2 separate regions of the Homo sapiens genome follow, and region 2 is linked to region 1. The links are contacts of gene promoters, found by promoter capture Hi-C in blood cells and fetal thymus (Javierre and others, 2016). All regions are on one chromosome and are shown on one strand. Each heading gives the region's core, a stretch centred on a gene start or on the middle of the fragment in contact. The rest is flanking DNA. Distances are from core to core; before and after follow the strand shown. Region 1 holds the start of ARFGAP2 (ARF GTPase activating protein 2). Region 2 overlaps ATG13 (autophagy related 13).

Region 1 (5,193 bases), core at 1,669-4,168:
GGAGGGTAGCAAACAAGATCACAGTTGCTATTCACTGTGGAAGAAAGCAGGAAGACAAGCAGCCCCCACCCCAACCCCTTCACTATTTACTTAGAGCCAGAGCCCATTCTCCTAACTTAAAGACAGTTAACTACCACCACCTAGGCAGGCACAGATCTAAAGGCTCCTCATATATGAATATATTTAATTATCACTACAACCCCTATGAAGGAGCTACATCGCCATTTTAGAAACTGAGGTTTTGACAGGTTGAGTGACTTGGCCACCATCACAGGAATGCGGAGTAGAGAACAGGAATTGAAGCCAAGAGTCTAACTTCAGCACCCAGGGCCAGTAAAGAGGAAACCCTCCTCAAAGGGGTGGGGCGGGGAGGAGAGAATCCTTTCACTGTCCCCAAGCACAGTGCCTTTTTTTTTTTTTTTTTTTTTTTTTTTTTTTTTTTTTTTGAGACGGAGTCTCGCTCTGTCGCCCAGGCCGGACTGCGGACTGCAGTGGCGCAATCTCGGCTCACTGCAAGCTCCGCTTCCCGGGTTCACGCCATTCTCCTGCCTCAGCCTCCCAAGTAGCTGGGACTACAGGCGCCCGCCACCGCGCCCGGCTAATTTTTTGTATTTTTAGTAGAGACGGGGTTTCACCTTGTTAGCCAGGATGGTCTCGATCTCCTGACCTCATGATCCACCCGCCTCGGCCTCCCAAAGTGCTGGGATTACAGGCGTGAGCCACTGCGCCCGGCCCACAGTGCCTTTCTTATAGGGGAAGAATCCAGGAAAATTTGTTTGGGGCACCGGACACCTCTTGAAACTTCAAGAAGCTGCCTCTCTTCCCCGCCAGCCCAATTTATAGGAGTCGATTTCTAAGGAGGGCTACACTGCACCTCCATTTATGGAGGAGGAAACACCTAGGCCTACCCAGCAGGAACAGTGGACTTCATACGTGGTGTCCAAGACATCACATCAAAGCAAATGGAATCTACAACCATGATCACAGAAGGCCTGGGCCTTGGTAAATTGCCTGTCAAGAACAACTGGGAAAACGGTTCCTTGTGGGCACTCACTTGAGTGTGTTCTGTGAAGAAATCAGAGTCCTTCTTCTCTGGGGAGTGATTAGGAACGGCACTACTCATGTTGTCTATCCAAAGCTAGAAAGGAGAAGACACCCCTAAAACACAGGGCTCTGAATACTCCTAACCCTCCTGCCCCAGCCCCAAGAACAGGCACTTACATCAGTGCCATGCCTAGCCAGGGCCGCACTCCCCAGCTGCCGGATCTTCTCCCGGTACATCTGGGCAGCTCGGCTATTATATTTGGTGTTGGCATCATTGGCTGTGCATCCATGTTGGCGAAAAAAAGCCGTCTGGAGAGCAAAGAAGAGAGCAGCGCGTGCTACGGGTGATTCTCAAGAAGGAAACGTGTTGGCTGTAGGAGACATCTCCTTATGACAGCGAAGTTATTATCTATACAGGATGATACACGCTACTGACACCGGTTTTTCAGAGATAAAGTTTCTCGAAATTCCTGCAAAAAACACCTTGCAGCGGGCCATCCTCTGATATGACTGAAGTCCAGGCCCCACTGAACGCTGCCTGAGCACAACATCCCATACCCAGCCTCCCCATCCTTCATCCAGGGCAGGCCCACAAGACCCAATGACTGTGAAGGCTCCCAACTCCTGTGGCTTTTCCCCAAGAACACCTGCCCAGTTTAATTGGAATCTGAAACCCATTTAAGAGAAGCTGTGACCAGTTTCGAAGTTTTCAGAAAATAGCTTATGGTGGTGTTATAGAACAGAGAACCCTCTGAACAGGGAAAACGACAGGGCCTCTTAGGGAGTCGTGCAAAGTTAGTAACCAGGCAGAAGAATGGAAGGTGAGGGAAGTAGAAGGAGCTTTACCGCATTGGCATTCCCGCCGACCTGCATACACCTCAGCTGGAACCAGTTCCAGTTGGAATCCAACTCTGTGGACCTGTGTACAAGGGCTGCGTCTCACCCACTAGCAGATACCAGCAGGATTTCCCTGGCAACCCGGATACCTGTCACTTGGCCTCAGGCTGCTGTAGGCACCCAGGAAACATTAATCAGCCATCACCCCATTTCCTCCACACTACCCTGTCCATGAAAACTCTCCTCTTCGTTCATTTACTCCAAAGAGTACTAATTATGTCCCCAGATCCGAAAGGAGGTCACATTCTCAGGCACGCACGCCTGGATTTGGCTTTCCCCTAATGGATGGTCACAGTCTCACTAGAGACATACTGGTCTAACAACATATCAGCAACAACAAGGTCAATGCCTCCCTTTCCCCTCAACTAACGCTCAGAGTCTCAAGCCTGACCGTCAAAAAAGAGGAAGTTTTGGCCCAGAGGCGGAGACGGACCGCCCATGTGCCAAAGGGCCCACACAGGTGGTTCCCTCTGGCAGGAGGCTACCGGACCCTCTCGGCCCAGAGGCTTCCCACCGAATTCAGAGCGGCCCAAGTCGAGGCAGCCACTCTCCCTTGTTGCCCAGACACCCCTGGCCGGCCGGGTGGAAACACGGCAACCGCGCGGAGAGCCTACCTGATGAAGCTCAGATGGACGCCCAGGGAGCGGTGCACCCCGGAACAGTCAATGCACAAGAAAACACCGTACGTGATGCTGGCCCAACTCGGATTCTTGGCGCCGCAGTCGAAACAGGCCTGGGTGGAGGCGGCGATGAGCGAATCGTCAGGGGCCCCGAGTAAAGGCCAGGCACCGACACCCCAGAAACATAACCCACCTCCGCCCTTCTCCCTCCCTCAGGCCCCAGCGGGACGAGAGACTCCGCGCGCCCCCTGCTCACGCACCTTGTTGGTTGGAACTGCGCGAAGCCTCTTAAAAAGAGTCTGGATTTCGGTCTTGTTCGGCTCCGCCGCCATTTTCTCTCCTTCCCAGACACAACCGCGGCTGACGGGTCCCGCCGCGGGCCAATCCACGGCGGGGAGGGCGGGCTCACCAGGCCGGCCTCAGCGGTGCCTGGGCCAGCCGAGGGGTGGGGTGATTGGAGTCCGATCTGGACCAATGGGCAGCCGGCGGGACGGGGGCGGCGACGACAACCGCGGCCGCAAGAATCAACGCCGCGCCGGGCCAATCCGCAGCCGGGGCGGGGCGACGGCGCGCGGACCGGCCCAAACCTCCTCGCGCGCGTAGTACCCTTCCCCCCGCCCCTCCCACGCCGCAACCCCCAGGTGGAGTCGCCCCCACGCCGCGCAGGCTGCGGGAGGCTGGGGGCGGGGACCCCCACTCCAGCTAATTACAGATCGATGAATAAGGATTAGGCTGCCCAAACACTCCTCGTCCCTCCGGCCCGAACGGGCAGACGCATTGGCCCGCGTCTCGCCCAGCCTTCAGCCGTTCTCGGTTAACAGCAAGCCTGACAGCGAGTCCCCTCCACTCCAGATTAGTATCTCGAAGTTCCAGAGCAGGTACCAAGCAGGCAAACCCTTTTCCAACCCCGGCCCCATAACAGACGCTAGGCCTCTCTCTAGATGCCCTCTGGTGGCCTGGCAAGGGTGTCCTATCAAAAAAATGCACATGAGCCCGACAGTGGTGTTTTTGTTTTTGTGTGTGGGTGTGTGTCAAGTTTTAATACACGCTAGAACAAGCCACAAGAGGGTGCTGCTAGGCCAGAACTACACTCACCCCAAGCCCACCCCAGGAACCCCAAAGCAGAGGTCAGGAACTGAGTCCACAGCTCCTGGGGAGGCCCAGGCACCCCTGAACGCTTCTGTCACCTCTGACCTCCCATCTTGCCCTCAGCCTAGACTCGTCCCTTCCCTACCAGTCCCTTCCCTAGACAAAGGCCCCTCCCCTCCCTGGGTCCCAGGACTTCCTCCCTCAAGGGACAGAGGAGCAGCCAGAGAGCGACGGTTCAGGGCCCTGAGGGTCCGGCTCTCCAGGAGAAGCTGGGCTCTGAACCAGGGTGGGTAAACGTTGCAGAAGGGCTGTCAGGACACTCAGGCGCCCACACACTCCACGTAGTTGGCAGGGTACAGGCCAATGCGGCCACTCTGCAACTGGCCTTGGCACCAGCCCTGCTCGTCCTCCTCACTCATCTTCAGCAGCTCCTCCCCTGGGGGAAAGGGGATTGGTCACTGCCAGTGGCCCTGGCCCAGGCCCTGTTCCTGCAACTGGGTCAAGGACTGAGGGGGATGGTGTGGTCCCAGAGCCCAGCTAGCAAAGACATGGCTCAGGCAGAGGCAGGTCAAGGTCAGCAAGCTGCCCCACCCCAGACCCTGAATGCAGCCACCAGGCACCAGCTATCTGGACCTGGAACAGCTGAAGGGACAGAGGACTGGCCCTTAAGAAGTGGGTATTTGGCTTCCCTTTCTGACACCCCTGCTCAGGCAGATAAGGCAGAGGCTGAAGCTAGGAAAGGGGTCCCAGGGTACCTGCTCGGAAGCTCAGCTCATCAGCTTCCTGGCCAGCGTAGTCATAGAGTGCCCTCACCCGAACCCCGGTGGCAGCCTTCCGGGGACTCTCTTCATCTGACCACTCCTCATCCTGCCCCGTGCTGGAGAGGGGAGGCAAAGGGAGCAGCTCAGAGTGCAAGGAACACGGGGCTGGAGATCTCACCCAGGATCAGGGCAAAGGCCTCCCTACCCCCAGAGGCACCTGGGAGAGTCAGGTGAGGTACTAAAGATTCTAGCTCTACCTCGCCATGCCCGACTGTGAGCAAAGAGGCAATTCCTGCCACACGCAGCTGATTTAAGGCATAAACGAGAGGGAATGTGGGAAATGCCCAGCAAATCTAAACCACTATGAGAACCAGTATCATTACAACTACTAAGTAGGCCCTCAGGTCCCTGGCACCAATTTTCAACCCATTTCAGGTGTGAAAGAAATGAAACCAAGGAGAAAGGAAAGGAGGGCGGGAGGCAGAGCTGTTTCTTTGCCACAGCCGCGCTCCTGGCTCTCACCCTGGGGACCCCGGGGACTGGGGTGGGGGTGCGGTGCCATCTCTTGTAGGCACAATGCTGGTCAGGGTAACCTCATCAGGGCTCCGGCCACCCTTCTCTTTCCGGCTGATTGTCCTCTGTGTGTCCAAGGACCACTCCTGTGGGGACAGTGCTTATAGTCAGGTGGGGCCATCTGAACCACCTTCACTTACTTCATCCCTAGCCCTGGCCGAGCTGAGTGGGAGCCCATCCCACCTCCCATCCCCACCCCGCCTGGAACA
Region 2 (5,193 bases), core at 1,719-4,218, 520 kb before region 1:
GCTGCTCACAGGATGTTGATCATTTAGGAGTGCTTTTGGATACAAATAACTGTAGCTTAGATCTAGAGATGTGGGTGATCTCAGAGGTAGACTTGGCTTTTCCACCTGCTTTTTATACTGTTGTTAGAAGGTTAACAGCGTGATACCATTAAAGAATAGTCTTGACCAGGTGTAGTGACTCACGCCTATAATCCCAGCACTTTGGGAGGCCGAGGCAGGAGGATCACCTGAGGTCAGGAGTTCGAGACCAGCCTGGGCAACATAGTGATACCTTGTCTCTACTAAAAATGTAAAAAATTAGCCAGGTGTGGTGGTTCACATCTGTAGTCCCAGCTACTCAGGAGGCTGAGGGAGGATTGCTTGGGTCCAGAAGGTCAAGGCTTCAGTGAGCCATGATCACACCACTGCACTCCAGCCTGGGTGACAGAGCAAGACTCTGTCTCAAAAAAATACACATTGCCAAGAAAAAGTTTAGCAAATTTTAAGCACTGTATCAGTATTTACATGAATAGTGAACTGCCTGAGTCTCAGCTTCTTGTTAAAGGCCTTAAAGGGTATTTACTTAGCAAGATCTCTTTTACCAACACTTTATTAACATTGTTCCTATATTACTTTATGGCAGGAGTCACTAAACTATGGTCAGCCGACCATCTGCTTGTTTTTATAAAAAAAGTTTTTTTAGGACACAGCCATCCCCTTTGTTTACATATTGTCTATGGCTACTTTTGCAATACAACAGAAAGCTGAGTATTTGTTATAGCCTATACGGCCCACAATCTTAAAATAGTTACCATTTGGTCCTTTACAGAAAGGTTTGCTGATCCCTGCTTTTTTAGTATCTTTTGTCTGTCGTATCTGTAGTACTTTTGTGCTTTGTATTTCAGATATTTACATACATTTCATTTCTTTTCTTTTTTTTTTTTTTTTTGAGGTGGAGTCTTGCTCACCTAGGCTGTGCAGTGGCACGATTTTGGCTCACTGCAACCTCCACCTCCTTGGTTCAAGTGATTGTCGTGCCTCAGCCTTCCAAGTAGCTGGGATTAATAGGCATGCACCACCACGCCTGGCTAATTTTTGTATTTTAATTAGAGATGGGGTTTCACCATGCTGGCCAGGCTGGTCTTGAACTCCTGACCTCAATTGATCCGCCCACCTCGGCCTCCCAGAGTGCTGGGATTACAGGCGTGAGCCACCATGTCCAGCTACATTTCTTTTCTTTCATACAAAACTGTAGTCTGTAAGACCTAGGATTCAGATTTATCCTTATTTCATTCCTAACATCTAACCATGAAGCTTCTTTTTTTTTTTTTTGTTTTTTGAGACGGAGTCTCGCTGTGTTGCCCAGGCTGGAGTACAATGGCACAATCTCGGCTCACTGCAAGCTCCGCCTCCCAGGTTCACGCCATTCTCCTGCCTCAGCCTCCCGAGTAGCTGGGACTACAGGCACCCGCCACCACGCCCGGCTAATTTTTTGTATTTTTAGTAGAGACGGGGTTTCACCATGTTAGCCAGGATGGTCTCGATCTCCTGACCTCATGATCCACCCGCCTCAGACTCCCAAAGTGCTGGGATTACAGGCGTGAGCCACCGCGCCTGGCGAAGCTTCTTCATACATTGTTGGAGCTTAGTATTTATTGAATAAACCCATGTGTATATTTAATTTTAACAATATTACTTGAAAAATATGAAAATAGATTTTAGGTATTTTGAATTCAAACTTTTTGCTAATATAGACTGGCCTGTCCAGGGAGAATCATAGGAAGGTTCCACTGTGTTTATGTTTTTATTTTTTTTTTTCAGAATAGTCTTACCTAGTTCATTATTCCACGGTGGAAAAGATTTCCTGCTTTGTTAAGCCATCTACTTAGAGATTTCTTCATGGCCAGGCACAGTTGGCTCACACCTGTAATCCCAGCACTTTGGGAGGCTGAGGTGGGAGGATTGCTTGAGCCCCGGAGTTTCAGACCAGCCTGGGTCACATGGCAAGACCTCATCACTACTATTTTTAAAATTTTATATATATATATATATATATATATATGTAAAAGAGAGCTTCCCACAACTAAAGACCACTTATCAAACTCTAGTACATTCTGGTCAGGTATGGTGGCTCATGCCTGTGATCCCAGCACTTTGGGAGACTGAAGTGGGAGAATAATTTGAGGCCAGGACCAGGGGCAGTGGCTCACACCTGTAATCCCAGCACTTTGGGAGAATGAGGTGGGAGGATCGCTTGAGTTCAGGAGTTCGATACCAGCCTGGGCAACACACCGAGACCCTGTCTATACTAGAAATAAAAAAACTTAGCTGGGTGTGGTGGCACGTGCCTGTAGTCCCAGCTGCTTAGGAGACTGAGGTGAGAGGATCTCTTGAGCCCAGGAGGTTGAGGCTGCAGTGGGCAGTGGTCATACCACTGCACTCCAGCATGGGCAACACACTGAGACCCTGTCTCAAAAAAAACAGTTGAGGCCAGGAGTTTGCAACCAGCCTGGGCAATAGTTAGACCCTGTCTCTACCAAAAATTATTTTTAAAAAACCCGAAAAACAGGCCAGGCATGGTGGCTTGCACCTGTAATCCCAGCACTTTGGGAGGCTACGGCGGGTGTATCACTTGAGCTCAGGAGTTCAAGACCAGCCTGGGCAATGTGGCGAAACCCTGTCTCTACCAAAAATACAAAAATTAGCCAGGCATGGTAGCGCATACCTGTAGTGCCAGCCATTTGGGAGGCTGAGGCACAAGAATCGCTTGAGTCCAGGAGGTGGAGGTTGCAGTGAGCCAAGATGGTGCCATTGCACTCCAGCCTGAGCGACAGAGCGAGACACTGTCTCAAAAAAAACCAAAAAACAGGTCCGGGCGCAGTGGCTCACGCCTGTAATCCCAGCACTTTGGGAGGCTGAGACGGGCGGATCACGAGATCAGGAGATCGAAACCATCCTGGCTAACACGGCGAAAACCCGTCTCTACTAAAAATACAAAAAATTAGCCGGGCGCGGTGGCGGACACCTGTAGTCCAGCTGCTCGGGAGGCTGAGGCAGGAGAATGGCATGAACCTGGGAGGCGGAGCTTGCAGTGAGCCGAGATTGCACCACTGCACTCCAGCCAGGGCGACAGAGTGAGACTCAGTCTCAAAAAGCAAAACAAACAAACAAAAAAACAGCCGGGCGTGGTGGCATGCGTCTGTAATCCCAGCTACTTGGGAGGCTGAGGTAGGAGAATCGCTTGAACCCAGGAGGCTGGAGGTTGCAGTGAGCCGAGATCATGCCACTGCACTGCAGCCTGGGTGACAGAGCAAGACTCCGTCTCAAACAAAACAAAACAAAACAAAACCAGTGCCTTCTAGTAGCAATCCTAGACCTGTTGGCCACTTTTATTTATATATTCTTTATTTCTCAGTAGGTATAATTTTAAAATACATTTTAGTAGCAGAGAGAAGAAACTTAAATAGCAGTTTCCACTTAATTATTATTTTCCTCATTTCTTTTTTTGAGACAGCGTCTCATCCTTTTGCCCAGGCTGGAATGCAATGGTGCAATCTTGGCTCACTGCAGCGTCAACTTCCTGGGCTTAAGTGATCCTCCCACCTCAGCCTCCCAGTTATCTGGTACTCCAGGCATGCACCATCACACCCGGCAAAATTATTTTTTGTCAATGCAGGGTCTTGCTGTGTTGCCCAGACTGGTCTTGAACTCCTGGCCTCAAGTGATCCTCCCGAAGTGCTGGGATCACAGGCATGAGCCACTGTGCCTGGCCTTATTTTCCTTATTTTTTAACCAACCCACTCTGTACGTCTCCATGCCTGTAGCTTAATTGAAGTAGTAGGAATTACTAATGCTCCATCAGCAGAGGTATTTGAGCAGATGAGTAAGGAAGGCTTTGTTTTATTTTGTTTCTACGTGTTTTGGCTATAGAGGCCCTTAGGAGTAAAGAATCAGGTAACATTTCTTATTTTTTCTTCCATACAGGATATATTTTGGAGAAGTTCAGCTGAGTGGCTTAGGAGAAGGTATGTATCAACGGTTGAAAAACATCGTAGTGTTCAGAGCTCTCCTAACTTCAGAGATGATCTTCGTTTCTACTTGTTATAATATGTAGATTGTCATCTTAATATGCATAATACAAGTAAAGAAAAGATGAGAATGCAGGTAGGTGGTCCAGGTTACCCCTGATCTGCCAGGGTAACCAAATAATTTTTCCCAAAGTTCCAGGAACTCAGTCTTCTTTCTTACTCTTTATAAAACTGTATATTTTCCTAATTTTCTACAGTGAGGATGTTAAATGTTTCTGATGAACAACAAGAATTTTGAAAAATTGGAAATGAAACCAAGAAAATCAGGAAAGCTTTGTTGAAAGTGTCACTTGCAAGGCCTTGGCTCTTTACTTAGCCGTGGAGTGGCAGCTTGGGTGGAAGGCAATTACTTCTTAAACTGAAGTGTTTGTGTGACATTCTAGTGCTCCTTCATTGTCTTTTTTAGCATGTGATGTATCCTTTGCAGGGCTGGTTAGTAGAACTTTCTCAGGCCTTAAAACTAACAGTTATTTTATCTCTTTGAAGGTAGCTTTATCTATAAATAGAGTGCTGTTTCCCTTGCCAATATTGGCTCAATATAGAATACATTGAGAGGGAAGAAACCTATATATACACACACATACACGCACATACACACACACACACACACACATATGAAATTAAGGCTGCTGCACTTAACATGCTAAGTGGATAATGCCAGAGATTACACAATAGGCCAAATAATTCAGGGAAAGACGGTCTGGGGGCAGTGTCAGTATTCTCTGCAAAAGAAGCTAATAATGTATCTCTTCTCCTAGGCTTCCAGACAGTTCGTGTTGGGACAGTGGGCACCCCTGTGGGCACCATCACTCTTTCTTGTGCTTACAGAATTAACTTGGCATTCATGTCTACCAGGTGAGGAAGAGCCCTGGAATCCAAAAGAACTCTTCCGAAAATGTTAAAGTTTTTTTTCTCCTAAACTTTAAGACTAAACCTACAATTCAGCTTTGCTGAAAGCAGTACCTTCAGAAGAATAAAGAGAGAGTGCAGTTGCCAGATTGGAGAATTTGAGTGTCCCAGAGCCAGTTTGTCCAGAACGTAGGATTGGTGGTTTATATTTAGGGATTGTGATAGTTAAAGCTCTGGTAGTGCCTGCCAACAGATGTAAGGTGAGGGGCCCTCTGAG

What was found. The method cuts DNA at HindIII sites, captures the fragments that hold promoters and counts their contacts. A CHiCAGO score of 5 or more calls a contact.
Region 2: a contact is called between a fragment that was not itself captured here and the fragment with the promoter of ARFGAP2 in region 1, in 1 of 17 cell types (megakaryocytes). The highest score is 5.4, in megakaryocytes.

Annotation. Positions count from the first base shown.
Region 1 is chr11:47,173,961-47,179,153 of GRCh38, forward strand. It overlaps ARFGAP2 (ARF GTPase activating protein 2), which reads right to left and starts at 2,919. Exons shown (of 16, transcript NM_032389.6): 1 at 2,822-2,919; 2 at 2,556-2,674; 3 at 1,891-1,963; 4 at 1,222-1,353; 5 at 1,055-1,138. The coding sequence starts at 2,893. PACSIN3 (protein kinase C and casein kinase substrate in neurons 3) reads right to left here. Exons shown (of 11, transcript NM_016223.5): 9 at 4,934-5,070; 10 at 4,406-4,527; 11 at 3,562-4,086. The coding sequence ends at 3,971. RefSeq lists enhancers at 2,667-2,896, 3,438-4,019, 3,867-3,916, 3,997-4,046 and a silencer at 2,947-3,376. The HindIII fragment of the contact is 14,588 bases long and covers 1-5,193 here.
Region 2 is chr11:46,652,270-46,657,462 of GRCh38, forward strand. ATG13 (autophagy related 13) reads left to right here. Exons shown (of 19, transcript NM_001346311.2): 8 at 3,964-4,004; 9 at 4,826-4,922. Among named protein-coding and RNA genes, the nearest start is that of ATG13, 37 kb to the left of the region's middle. The HindIII fragment of the contact is 2,737 bases long and covers 1,601-4,337 here.